Regions from separate parts of the Homo sapiens genome. Here region 1 is linked to region 2. The links are contacts of gene promoters, found by promoter capture Hi-C in blood cells and fetal thymus (Javierre and others, 2016). All regions are on one chromosome and are shown on one strand. Each heading gives the region's core, a stretch centred on a gene start or on the middle of the fragment in contact. The rest is flanking DNA. Distances are from core to core; before and after follow the strand shown.

Region 1 (6,292 bases), core at 1,577-4,076, 410 kb before region 2:
TAAGCATTTACCAGTACACTACTGCACCTGATTGCAAGCAAGAACCACTCAGTTGAGTCAGAACCAGGAGAGGTAATATTAAGTTGTTTTAAGATATTAGGTAGTTGGGATGGTTTACTATATAGCAATGGATAACCTGAACAAGTACTCTTTCTTAGATAATCTATAAATTTTAACTTGAATATTTATTTAGTTTATATTTACAATACCTAGTGATATCTTTAGGCACAAATATTTCAATTTTTTGTGCGTTATTTTTGTCTCACCATTTTTATGTCTCTATTTCCTTCCTTTGTTGATCTTCTTTTGAAATGACTGAGTACTTTTTATTGTTCCATTTCCTTCTGTATTATTTGGAAGCCCTTTTCCGAATAGCTAGTGCTTACCCTAGAAAATTAAGCATGTATCCTTGATATATCAAAATCAAAAGTTAACTGAAACCCTTCCTCCTTCTGGGAAATGCAGGGACCTTACATTTTTAAAATCTTTTTAATCCCTTTTGACTTATATACTATTTCTGTCATGCTTTAAAAATATTTTAAAACCCCATAAGATATTAGTATTATTTTATACAATCAACATTGTTTTAAATGTACTTACATATTTACCAGTTTTGTTTCTCTTCCTTACTTCTTGCCCCTCTGACCTTTCATCAGGGATTATTGTCTTTCCATGTTAGAATAATTTGAGAGTTTCCTTTAGTCCAAAGATGCTGGTGAGGAATGATTTCAGGTTTTGTTTTTCTGAAAATGTCTTTATTTCATCATAATTATTGAAAAGCATTTTTTCTGAGGGTATAATCTTAGGTGTGACCCCCACAGCACATAGTAAATATTATTCCAGTGTCTACTGGTTTCCATTGTTGCTGTCAAGAATTTAGCTGTCAATCTAAATGTCATTCCTTTAAAGGTATTCTGTTTATTTTCCTTTGGCTGCTTTTCAGATTTTCTGTGTGTCTGATATTTTGCAGTTTTACCATGCTGTGTCTTTATAATCATCCTGTTCTGGATTCAGTAGGATTTTTTTTAATTTTTAATTTTTCCGTAAGTTATTGGGGGTACAGGTGGTATTTGATTACATGAGTAAGTTCTTTGGTGGTGATTTGTGAGATTTTGGTGCATCCATCACCTGAGCAGTATACATTGCACCATATTTGCAATCTTTTATCCCTCGCCACCCCCCACTCTTGCCCCCAAGTCCCCAACGTCCATTGTATAGGATTTTTGAATTTGTGAATTAATGCCTTTACATCACTTTGAGCATATCCTCAGCTATAATGTTCTCCAATGTTGCTTCTGTTCCATTGTATTTCTATAGTATTATTTTAGTACTCTAATTAAACATATTTTAATCTTATTACTCTATCCCATCTATTTCTACCTTTTATTTTAACACCTTTTGCTCTTTGGGCTTTATTGTGGATAGTTCACCCACCTTAAAGTTTAATAATTCTCTCTTCTTGCTGTTGTCTGAATTTGTACCCCCAAATTCATGTGTTGAAAATTCAATCCCTTATACAACAGTGTTGGGAGGTGGGGAATTTCAGGAAATGTTTAGATTATGAGGGATCTGCCCTCATGAATAAATTAACGGCACTGTAAAAGGACTTGATGGAAGGAGCCTGTCCCTCTCTTATGCTTTTGGCTCTGTCATGTGACGATGCAGCAAGAAGATCTTCACCAGATGCTGGTGCCTTGATCTTGGACTTCCCCTAGGCTCCAGAATTGTGAGAAGTAAATTTCCGTTCTCATAAATTACTCAGTCTGTGGCATTCTGTTATAGCAGCACAAATGGTCTAAGATACTTTTATTTATTCTTTTTCAAATTTATTGTTACTTTGTATAATTTCTAGTTTCCTCTCGAAACTTTCAAGCTTGGCATTTATATCTGGAACACAATAAGCTCATGGTTTTAGCGTCTATTTCTGATATGTCCAGTAACTGGGATCCTCATGGGTCTATTCCTGTGGTGTGTTTTAAAATTGTATCTTTATGGTGTTTTGTCTCCACATAAACCTGGTTATCTTTGATTTTGTGCTGAAAGTTGTATTAAACACTTCTTCCTGGAAATAATTTGGGGCTTATAACATTTTCTTTCTCCAGAATGGATTTTAATTGACTTTTGCCAGGCATCTTGGGGCACTAGCAATCATGGGTAATCTTAATCTATTTCAAGCTTCAGGTATTCTAGATAAAACCTCATTATCTAAAATTTACATGTATTCTTTAAGTACGGTTATTCAGTTTCCTAGCCAAACATGAGAGATTGTTTAAGAAGTTCCACCATGACTGGTAGACTCAGGATTCTGACTTTTGTTTCTCTAGTCCTTGGAGACTGTCAAAAGTATATCTCAGTATTCATTCACCTATTTTTTTCCTTTTATTTCCAGTTGGTACATAATAATTGTACATATTTATAGGATACAGAGTGACATTTTGATACATATATACAATGTATAATAATAAAATCAGGGTAATTAGCATATTCATAATCTCAAACATTTACCATTTTTGCATGGTGAACATTTAAAATCCACTCTTCTAGCTTCTTGAAAATATGTAAGAAATTATAGTTAACCATATTTATCCTACAGTGCTACAGTGCTGCAAAACACCACAACCCATTCCTCCTGTGTAGCTATAATTTCGTATCCATTAACCAACCTTTCCCCATCCTCCTTTTCCTTCACCCTTCCCAGCCTCTGATAAGCACAATACTACTTCCATGAGCTCAATAAAATTTTGTAGCTGCCGTATAAGTGAGAACATGTATTTATTTTTCTGTGCCTGACTTATTTCACTTAACATATGCCCTCCAGGCTCAGCCATACTGCCATGAATAACAGGATTTCATTCTTTTTTATGGCTGGATAATATTCCGTTGTGCATATACACCACATTTTCTTTATCCACTCATCTGTTGATGGATATTGAGGTTGATTCCACATAGTAGCTATTGTGAATAGTGCTGCAGTAAGTATGGGAGGTGCAGGTATCACTTTGACATACTGGTTTCCTTTTCTTTGGATAAATGCCCAATAGTGGAATTGCTGGATGATATGGTAGTTCTATTTGTAGTTTTTTGAGGGACTCCCATACTGTTTTCCTTAGTGGCAGTGCTAATTTACATGCCCACCAACAGCATTTATGGGACAGTGGCTCATGCCTGTAATCCCAGCACTTAGGGAGGCAGAGGCAGGAAGATCGCTTGAAGCCAGGAGTTCAAGACCAGCCTGGGCAACATAGCAAGACCCTGTTCTTCACAAAAAAGAAAAAAAAAGCAGTTGTAGAACTCCTTTAAGTATTTCTTGTAGGACTTATCTAGTTGTAGTGTACTTCCTCAGTTTTTGCTTGTTTGGGAAATACTTTATTTCTCCTTCATTTCTGAAGTATAGCTCTGCTTGGTATAGTATTTTTGGCTGATAGTTTTAAAAAATTTCAGCACTTTGGATATATCATCTCATTCTATCCTAGCCTGTAAAGCTTCTGCTGAGAAATCTGCTGTTAGTCTGATGGGAATTTTCTTATAGGTGACTTGTCACTTTTCTTTTACCGTTTTTAGAATTCCCTCCTTGTCTTGAGTCTGGTACCGTAGACTACTCAGCCATCCTGATGCCCTACCTCTTGTATAGAAACAACCCAGATCCAAAGTGGCCAGAAAGTTACTTTACCTTCTGAATTTGTGGTCTTTTTCAGAATCTCTACCTGTTAATTCTGCATGACTTTATTAGTCATTAGATACTTTTATAATTTTAAAATATCTCCAATTGTATGGTTGGTTCAAATTACCAGTTCTGCATACTGGTAATGTAAGTCCTCTGTTGAATTGATTTTTAAATACATTTATTTTATTCCAGTATCTTCTAGCTCCTGGTGTTGCAGATGAGAAGTTTCAAATAACTTGAAATAATTCCCTTCTATGTAATTATCCCTGATTTTGACTTTCTTTCCATAGTTATATATTTTTTCTATGCTATTATATTCTCATTTTAAAGATGTTGAATGACAATGTAATTTTCTTTTCTTTACAAGTGGTAGCTTATTTACAAGTATTTTTGAAGTTTATTTTCCTGGAAAGTTTTCTTAAATTATAGATTTTAGTATTTCTTCTGTTTTATTACTTCAGATTTCTTCTTCAATGGCTCCAATTATATTTGTATTAGATATTCTTTGCTTTTCTTTTGTAGCTAACACTCCTAAATCCTACCTAGCTCTTTTTTAAAAAATATTTTACTTTTTATTCTTGTTTTCATCTTATAGTTTTCTTTAGGCATTATCCATAGTGTTTATATGCTGTTATGTGCCTTCTGGTTTAGTGTTTACTTCTGAAAAAATTATTTTCCTTTTTTTTAATATTTTACTGAGTTTTCTCATCTCTCTTTTCAAAGCTTTTCTTCTCCAATCATATCATTACTGAGTCTCTCTAATTCTGATTTGTGTATTCTTGCATAGCTTTTCATTATTTTCTAAAAATGTTTAAGTTGTTTTCAAATATTACGTAGCAATTTGTGGAATTTTTTTTCTTGTGTGTATTTATTTCCTTTAGTGTAATTATTTGTCCTCTCCTTTAAAAATAATTTTATATCAGATTTGCCCATAATCCTTTTCTTATGCTCATTTTTATATGAAAAGTGCTCCCCCATAATTTTAGAAGAAACAGACCAGGATAATTTTCCTATCTTTGTTGCTCTATAGATTTCTATTCAGCTATTGTCATGAAATGATAAAAATATAATTTTTTAATGTCTTACTTTGTGACATCCTTTACCCTTTTTACTTGGACCTTTTTCCTTTGTTTAATTGTCCCCCACCCACACCATTCTGCTTCATATGGACTCAATTCCTATCAGTTCCTCCTCAGTATAGGGGTTTTTGCTACAAGAAGACATTTGTTAGTTGACAAGTTCATAGGGCTAAGACAGGTTTAGCACAATCCAATCTATTTGTAGTCCCTTCTGCTAAGTTTTGAATTTGCTTTTATTTCTAATATTTTACTGAGTTTTCTCATCTCTCTTTTCAAAGCTTTCTTTTTTTTCTTACTCAGGGATAATTGAATTAGGACCTTCGATTTCCCCCCTTCCACCCATGACTATTGTTCTCAAATTGTTTTACTATGCTTTCCAGTGAGTACTTATTGGCACTTTTTGGAGTTCTTCAATTCTCAACACCATCAAAAGCCCCATAACCTTCTTTTGCTTCCTCCTGAGACTCTTTTCATGTGCTTATTGGTCATTTCTTTATCCTCTTCGGAGAAATACCTATTCAGAACTTTTGCCCAATTTTTAATTGGTTTATTCGTTTTTCAATTGTTGAGTTGTAAGAGTTCTTTATATATTCTAGATGCAATTACTTTATTAGATATATAATTTGCAAAGATTTTCTCATTGAGGGTGTTGTCTTTTCACATTCTTTTTTAGCTCCCACTTATAAGTGAGAACATGTAGTATTTGGTTTTCTGTTTCTATATTAATTCACTTGGGATAATGGCCTGCACCTCCATTCAATGGGCTGCAAAGGGCATGATCTTTTTCTTTCTTTATGGCTGCATAGTATTCAATGACGTATATGTACAATACTGTATTGTATTGTATTGTATTTTTTTCAGACAAAGTCTCACTCTTGTACCCCAGGCTGGAGTGCAATGGCGCGATCTCGGCTCACTGCAACCTCCGCGTCCCGGGCTCAACAATTATCCTGCCTCAGCCTCCCGAGTAGCTGGGATTACAGGTGCCTGTCACCAGGCCTAGCTAATTTTTGTATTTTAAGTAGAGACAGGGTTTCTCCATGTTGGCCAGGCTGGTCTCGAACTCCTGACCTCAGGTGATCCGCCTGCCTCGGCCTCCCAACATGCTGGGATTACAGGCGTGAGCCACTGTGCCTGGCCAATGTACTGCATTTTATTTATCCAGTGCACCATTGATGGGCATTTAGGATTATTCTCTGTCTTTGCTATTGTGAATAGTGCCATGATGAACATACACATACATGTGTCTTTATAGTAGAATGACTTATATTCCTTTGGTTATGTACACAGTTATGGGATTTGCTGGCTTGAATGGTAAGTTCTTTGAGAAATCTTCAAACTGCTTTCCACAGTGGCTAAACTAATTTATATTCCCGCCAGCAGTGTATAAGCATTCCCTTTTCTCTGCAACCTCACCAGCATCTGTTATTTTTGACTTTTTAGTAATAGCCATTCTGACTGGTGTGACTGCAACCTCCACCTCCTGGGTTCAAGCGGTTCTCCTGCCTCAGCCTCCTGAGTAGCTGGGACTGTGCAGGCACACACCACA
Region 2 (7,245 bases), core at 4,509-7,008:
TGAAGTGATGATTCATAGAGCCCAGACTTACAGTCCAAAAAAGAAAGAAAAGTGCCCACCGGAACCCACTAGAGCCCACTGTGCCCCTGCCCACAAAAGGAGAAGAAACTTTTTCCTGGGAGCCTGCTGACTATACAAAGGACAAAGGCATTTCTATGCCAGGCCTTGTTCCCTTATCTGAGTGGGCCGGAGGTTTATGTACGTTTTTATTTCTATGCCAGGCCTTGTTCCCTTATCTGAGTGGGCCGGAGGTCTATGCAAGTTTTTATCCAAATGGGCCGGAGGTTTTTCTATCTGTGCAGCTGTGGGCCTGTCTCCAGGCACAACACCCTGTGCTAGTTCCTTATCAGTGCCTGCAGCTTGAATTTTTTTCCCAGGCTCCTTTTTATGTTATGTGGGGATGAGACACTGACCCATGGGCTGGGGGCTCTCCAGGGACCCTTGCCTTGCTCTCTACCTAAGGCAAGCTAACTAACTCCTTTCAGTTTCAACACTGAAATAATTTGCTTTCTAAAATGAATCTCAGGGAAGACTTCTGGCCTATTTCACATGAATAAATGAATCTCAGAGATGTCTGGCCTATTTCACATGAATCTAGAGAGATCAGAGAGCGTAGAGAATTATAGACTTTGAAAACAGGGATTTTAAAGTTAAGGAGCTGCTCAAGTTGGAAGTGCAGGCCCTGGACAGAGGGATACTTTCTGGTCTTGAGCAAAAATCTCCAGTAGTTTCAGTCACACAACAACTTCCTGGAAATAATTATCACCCTCCTTAGAGGTCTGAGCCAGAAGAAAGAGAATCTACATTTCTTCTGAGTTCAGCAAGAAGATCATGAAGAAAATGAGCAGCTTTGATACTCCATTGCCAGATATGATCCTTCTGAGATATCACATATACTTAACTACTACAGCTTAGCATCCAGTGAATGCTAGGACACAGAAAGAATTTCTAACTACGATGTCTTTCAGCAATGCAAGATGCAGACCCTTTGGCCTTGACAATAGACCAAAAGGTATAATAAACTACAGAAAAGATTTTTCAAAATTAAGGGGCAAATTATGTTATGTGGAAGTGAAGAAAATTTTAAAATAAGGCTAGGCATCAGAAAAATGATTTGATCAATTTAAATCTTAGAAACAAATACCATGGCACTAATTTAAAGAATACAAAAAGCCACAATACAAAAACACAATTAAGAGAAGGGGACAATCCCAGCACTTTGGGAGGCCGAGGTGGGTGAATCACTTGAGGTCAGGAGTTCGAGACCAGCCTGGCCAACATGGTGAAACCGCCATCTCTACTAAAAATACAAAAATTAGCCAGGTGCGGTGGCACAGGCCTGTAATCCCAGCTACTAGGGAGGCTAAGGCAGGAGAATTGCTTGAGCCCAGGAGGTAGAGGTTGCAGTGAGCTGAGATCGTGCCACTGCACTCTGGGCGACAGAGCGAGACTCCATCTCAAAAAACAAACAAACAAACAAAAACAAAGAGAAGGGGACTGTTCATTAAATTCAGAGATTCCATCACTGATTACACACACACAATATAAAATTTGGATTCCACCTTTTTCTTCTAAATTTTATTCTAAAATATCACTCTTCTAACTGTAGAACAAACATCTAGACTGTCAGATCCTTGAAGTCAGAAACCAGATACCATTAGTGTCTGAATAGCCACAGTTCAATACAATACATTGTAAATGGTGTGAGTTAAATAAGTATTATGTAGATAAATAATTTGGCGATAGAACCCTCAAATGTCTTTAAACACAGTATTTCAAATTACTATATTTTTGCTTAGAGATCTGAAATGATACAAGTTGTACCCAAATATTGAACACTGAATTAAGCAAATAGGACAGGAAAAAAATTCTCCTGACTTAGATTTCTATTCCTCACTCCCACTATCCTTACTTGCCTCATACTATTTTTTTGAAGGTATTGAGTTAAATCTTTAATGAATGACACGTAAGAAGGTATGCTGACAACAAAGCTAACTTAGACTACCTCATGGGTGCCAGGCAGCGGGACGGTGGACTCTGAAATGATCCACTTCCTGTTAAACGCCAGTCCCGTTTTATATTTAATACAGGCCTGCTCCGATGAAGCACCACTCCATAGCTACTGACCATTTAAGTATGGAATATATAACTTAAATCTATAAATAACTTTAAAGTATAAACATGATTTTCTTTTAAAGTAAAAGTAAATAAATGGAAGATCAGCCATAGCTCTGGGGCACACCAGGCCTGACACTGAGCCTCCCCTCCCCTAAATGTCCGCAGCAACCCTTACTGGTCAGTATCTCATTTCCCTGACCATCTTGCTTCTGACACTAAGGCTAGAGTTACCACAGAGATTTCATAGATAGCAAAAAGCTTAAGGAAACAAAGTTTCCCACAGGAATTACATTCTGTCAAATAATAAACCCACATGGTACAGACTATTATTAAGACTGGTAGCCTGCTTCTTTTCAGCTTTAGAGGCTGCTTAAGAAAACTTGATACTGAAAGAGACCCTGCTGGTGGTCTTGGAGCAACACAGAATGATGGGGCTTACTTTAGTGGTGACAAGAATGACATGGCCAAAGAACAGTTGCTTATCTCCAAGTCTGTGGGGATCAGATAAATGAACTACGTTTTGGGGTTGGGGGTTTTTCTTTGTTTTGGAGGGGTTTTGACAGTGTACATATACATACATATGGTATATAGTTCAATAAAATTACTTTTCTTCTGTTTCATTCCTTAGTCACACCCCATACGTAGTTATCATTAAAATTTACTGATGAACAGTACCAAATTTAGAAGACTCTAGCACTGTAAAGGCATGGGAAGGTATTATGGACCCCAAGGTAAACTTCAAGAAAGGGTTGTCCCTAACATGACTCATTGTGGAGCAAAAGCACTAAGTTCTGTCTAGTTCTATCTGAGAGTAGATGACTTTTACCCACAAGTATTATTAGCAAATAGGGAACAAAAGCTTCTCTTAGCTTTGTCACTTTCTGTTCCCCAGGAAGGTTTCTGGCTGATGGAGGCAGAAAGGACAGTGAGTGACCCAAAATGAATCAACAACCTCTAAATGGGCCGATAGAACACCCTTGAGTCCTACCCAGGCCAGGACCCAGAGACTGGAAGCTAAGAACTGTTATCAGCCACATGGGTCTTCATCAAAGCAGAGGTGCACAGCTCCTTCCTCGAACTAAAGCCCAGCTCGTTTGAGGGGGAGAACGGAAGCTGGCGCAGGAAGGCTGTGTGGATTCCCCAAGGCCTGATGATACTCTAGATCATCCCTAACCATATAGGCAGAGTGCAGAATATAATCCCACTTTGAAAATGGATAACACTATATTAAGGGTATTGTTTCTTGGGAAAATCCACAATGCTTACTCTGAAACTTTTAACTCAAGAATGTCAAAGCCACACTGGTATGCAGGTACCTTCTCCTCTTAAAAATATAGATGAGGCCAGGCGCAGCGGCTCACACCTGTGATCCCAGAACTTTGGGAGGCCTAGGCGGGTGGATCACCTGAGGTTAGGAGTTCATGACGAGCCTGGCCAACATGGCAAAGCCCCATCTCTACTAAAAACACAAAAGTTAGCCGGGTGTGGTGGCGTGCACCTGTAGTCCCAGCTACTTGGGAGGCTGAGGTAGAAGAATCACTTGAACCCAGGAGGCGGAGGTTGCAGTGAGCCAAGATCGTGCCACTGCACTCCAGCCTGGGCAACAAGAGTGAGACTGCATCTCAAAAAAAAAAAGTATATATATATATATACTTTTTCTCATATATATATATATATGAGAGAGAGAGAGAGAGAGGAGTATTTTGGTATCAAGCACCACATGAAGATGTTTCAAAACTTGAACCGCCTAATGTAGTGCGCATGTTAAGCAGACTTTAAAAGAGATCCTGGCCGGGTGCGGTGTCTCATGCCTATAATCCCATCACTTTGGGAGGCTGAGCTGGGTGGATCACCTGAGGTCAGGAGTTCGAGACCAGCCTGGCTAACATGGTGAAACCCCATCCCTACTAAAAATACAAAAATTAGCTGGGCATGGTGGCGGGCACCTGTAATCCCAGCAACTCGGGAGGCTGAGGCAGGAGAATCGCTTGAACCAGGCAGGCAGAGGTTGCAGTGAGCCAAGATCATGCCACAGCACTCCAGCCTGGGCGACAGAGTGAGACTCTGTCTCCAAAAAAAAAGAAAAAAAGAGAGAGTGATCCTAAGTAATCATTCATACCTATCTTCACAAAATATGGTCAATTCTGGGTTTGGGGGGCTGATATTTGAGATTATATATAGAACTAAATTGTTTCACTCACGACATAGAATCATCCAAACTGCATGTACACACAAATGGCTTTATGCAAAGGCCCTGACAGAACGATATTTAGTTTTTCAGATTAGGTACATAGGGCCAACCAGCCCACCCTGTACATTCCAGCAAGTGCAAGAGCAGCAACTTTCCTATTTCAATACAATTATGGGCAGAAATTATATGATGTAAAATAGAGGCCCTTCCATAAAGTTAAGATTTAGGGTAGAAGAAGGGAAGATAAAACCAAAATTCCCATGAAGTCAAAATTAGACAGTGGTCTTGTACTCTGCTGAACCCTGTGATGAACTGTAGTCCTCAAACTCATGGACTCGGATCCAGGTTCACCAAGACACTTCAGTATGCTTCCAACTGTTTCATCATCATCTTCCTGCTGTATTCGTAGGCCACAAACAGTGCCCCATTGGCAGGGATTGCTCGAATCATAGTAGCTTTCAGTCCAGAATATAAGGCTACTATTCCTTCATTTCTCACAACACTTAAGAGGGTACCAATAAATCCTGCCTGTTTCCCATACATGGAAAGAACTTGAATTCTGGATTTAATACAATCCACTGGGAACACGACAAGCCACAGGCAAATTCCAGCAACTCCACCACTTAACATCAAATGGACAGGGCCTAGTTCATCTTTTGATCTCCCTGACGCAAAAAACGATCGGCTCAGTTCATAGCCACCAAAGAAAAAGAAATAACCCGGTACTTCTTGAAGTAGAGTACTCGAGAGTCCATGGTAGAAGCCCAAGGGGCCATCCTTTTTAAGGATACCCTTCACGACAGACCAAATTGTATTATGGCTTTTTGCTATCTTCCCTGACATCTCCATTTCATACATGGTCTGTAGCCGGCACTTCACAAGCTCAGTGGGGCAGAGAGCCAGTGCAGCAAATGCAGAGGCGAAGGACCCCGCGGCTGCAGTCTGGAGATCACTCAGCTTTGCCTGCTTGTCCATTCCAGCCACTTTCCTGACAAACTGCTGGCAGAACCCGTAGCACATGAAGAGGACCGAGTTTTCGGCGACGTAGGCCATAAGTGCCGGGCCGGTGCCCTTGTAGAAGCCCCGGAGACCCACTTGAGCGTATGTCTTCAGGAAGCAGTCGGTGAGGCCCTTGTACAGGTCAGGGAACGTCTGCATCTTCACTTTTATTGTGTCGAAGGGCTGCCCAGTCAGTACACACGCTGTCCCCCCTGCGGCCCCCGCTGTGAGGTCGATGGCGGCTTGGATGCCAGGACCGGACTTCATGTTCGCTCACTCGTCTGAGGGTCCCAGTGGAAGGCGACTAACTCCCCAGAGCGTGAGACCGGCTTTTCACGTCCAGCCGCAGCGAGCGCGGGGAATGGAGTTGGGGGTGGTGGGGTGGCTCTACCGCCTGTTCTGGGCTCTCACCCCAGTGCGGGGGAAGCCGCTCAACCCTACGCTCCGCCGCGGGCCGCCCCCTCCCCGCGCACTAAAATAACCCCCAGCTGCCGGCCCAGCGCGCGGCTCACTAGCGTTCCTGCGGCTCCTGGCGCACTGGCCGGGCCCCCAGCCGCCTCCAGCCTGGAGCCGCCATCCCTGCACCCGCAGGCGGGGGACGCGGACCGAATAAATACTTTTAGTGTACTGCGACTGGGCGCGGTGGCTCACTCCTGTATCCCAGCACTTTGGGAGGCCGAGGCGGGAGGATCGCTTGAGCCCAGGAGATCGAGACCAGCCTGGGCAATATGGCAAGACTCCATTTCTACAAAAACGAAAAAATACCCGGGCGCGATGGCGCGCGCCTGTGGTCCCAGCAATTCAGGAGAATGAAGCGAGGATCGCTTGAACCCGGGAGGTCGATGCTGCAGTGAGCTATGATCGCACACTGCACTCCAGGGTGGGCGAAAGGGTGAGGCTCTGTCTCAAAACAAAACCAAAACCAAGAAAACATGTAAAGCTTTTCGATAAATTCTTGCAATTATGGCCGGGAACTCTAGACGCCGCAGTTCAGCTGGCGGCAAAAGAAATGCTGTCCTAATCAGTCAGCCCTGCTTCTTTTCTTTTCTCTCTTTTTTTTTTTTTTGACTTAGGGTCTCACTCGGCCGCCTAAGCTGGAGTTCAGTGGCGCGATCCTGGCTCACTGCAGCCCCAATCTCCTGGCCTCAGGCGATCCTCTCACCTCAGCCTCCTGAGTAGCTGAGACTAGAGGGACTACAGGCGCAAGCCACCACATCTGGCTAAATTTTGTATTGTACAGACGGGGTTTCGCCATGTTGCCCAGGCTAGTCTCGAACTCCTGAACTCAAGCAATCCACCCACTGGCCTCCCAAAGTGTTGGGGCTTACAAGCATGAACCACCACACCCGGCCTATCCCACGCTTCTTACCATGCAAAAAACAAAAACAAACAACCCGAAAAGAAGATGCCCTCACTTGAATAGACCCTGAATTCAGAGGGTCAATCTACAAGAAAACTGCTTTAAAGTAGATAAGACAGGCCAGGTGTGGTGGCTCATGCCTGTAATCCCAACACTTGGAGAGGCTGCGGAGGGAGGCTCATTTGAGCCTAGGAGTTCAAGGCTAGCTTGGGCAGCAAAATGAGACACCCCTTACCCCCTACAAAAAATAAAGTAGAGAAGACAAACTGTCAGAGGCGCTGGAACCACAGCAACTCCATCTTGACTAGGGACTGAGTAAAATAAGGCCGAGACCTACTGGACTGCATTCCCAGGAAGACAGGCATTCTAAGTCACAGGATGAGATAGGAGGCCGGCACAAGATACGGGTCACAAAGACCTTGCTGATAAAACAGGTTTCAGTAAAGAAGCCAGCCAAATCCCACCAGAATCAAGATGGCATAATAAGTGACCTCTGGTCGTCCTTACTGCTCATTATACGCCAATTATAATGCATTAGCATGCTAAAAGACACGCCCACCAGCGCCGTGTCCACTTA

Evidence for each region. The method cuts DNA at HindIII sites, captures the fragments that hold promoters and counts their contacts. A CHiCAGO score of 5 or more calls a contact.
Region 1: a fragment that was not itself captured here is called in contact with the fragment with the promoter of SLC25A2 in region 2 in 1 of 17 cell types (M1 macrophages); the score reaches 7.3 in M1 macrophages.

The regions. Positions count from the first base shown.
Region 1 is chr5:140,890,228-140,896,519 of GRCh38, forward strand. All of the region lies in intron 1 of PCDHA1 (protocadherin alpha 1), which reads left to right. All of the region lies in intron 1 of PCDHA2 (protocadherin alpha 2), which reads left to right. All of the region lies in intron 1 of PCDHA3 (protocadherin alpha 3), which reads left to right. All of the region lies in intron 1 of PCDHA4 (protocadherin alpha 4), which reads left to right. It also overlaps PCDHA5, PCDHA6, PCDHA7, PCDHA8, PCDHA9 and PCDHA10, and 4 more genes. Among named protein-coding and RNA genes, the nearest start is that of PCDHA13, 11 kb to the left of the region's middle. The HindIII fragment of the contact is 1,307 bases long and covers 2,174-3,480 here.
Region 2 is chr5:141,298,291-141,305,535 of GRCh38, forward strand. It overlaps SLC25A2 (solute carrier family 25 member 2), which reads right to left and starts at 5,759. Exons shown (of 1, transcript NM_031947.4): 1 at 4,345-5,759. The coding sequence starts at 5,575. The coding sequence ends at 4,670. RefSeq lists a silencer at 2,394-2,688. The HindIII fragment of the contact is 3,271 bases long and covers 2,976-6,246 here.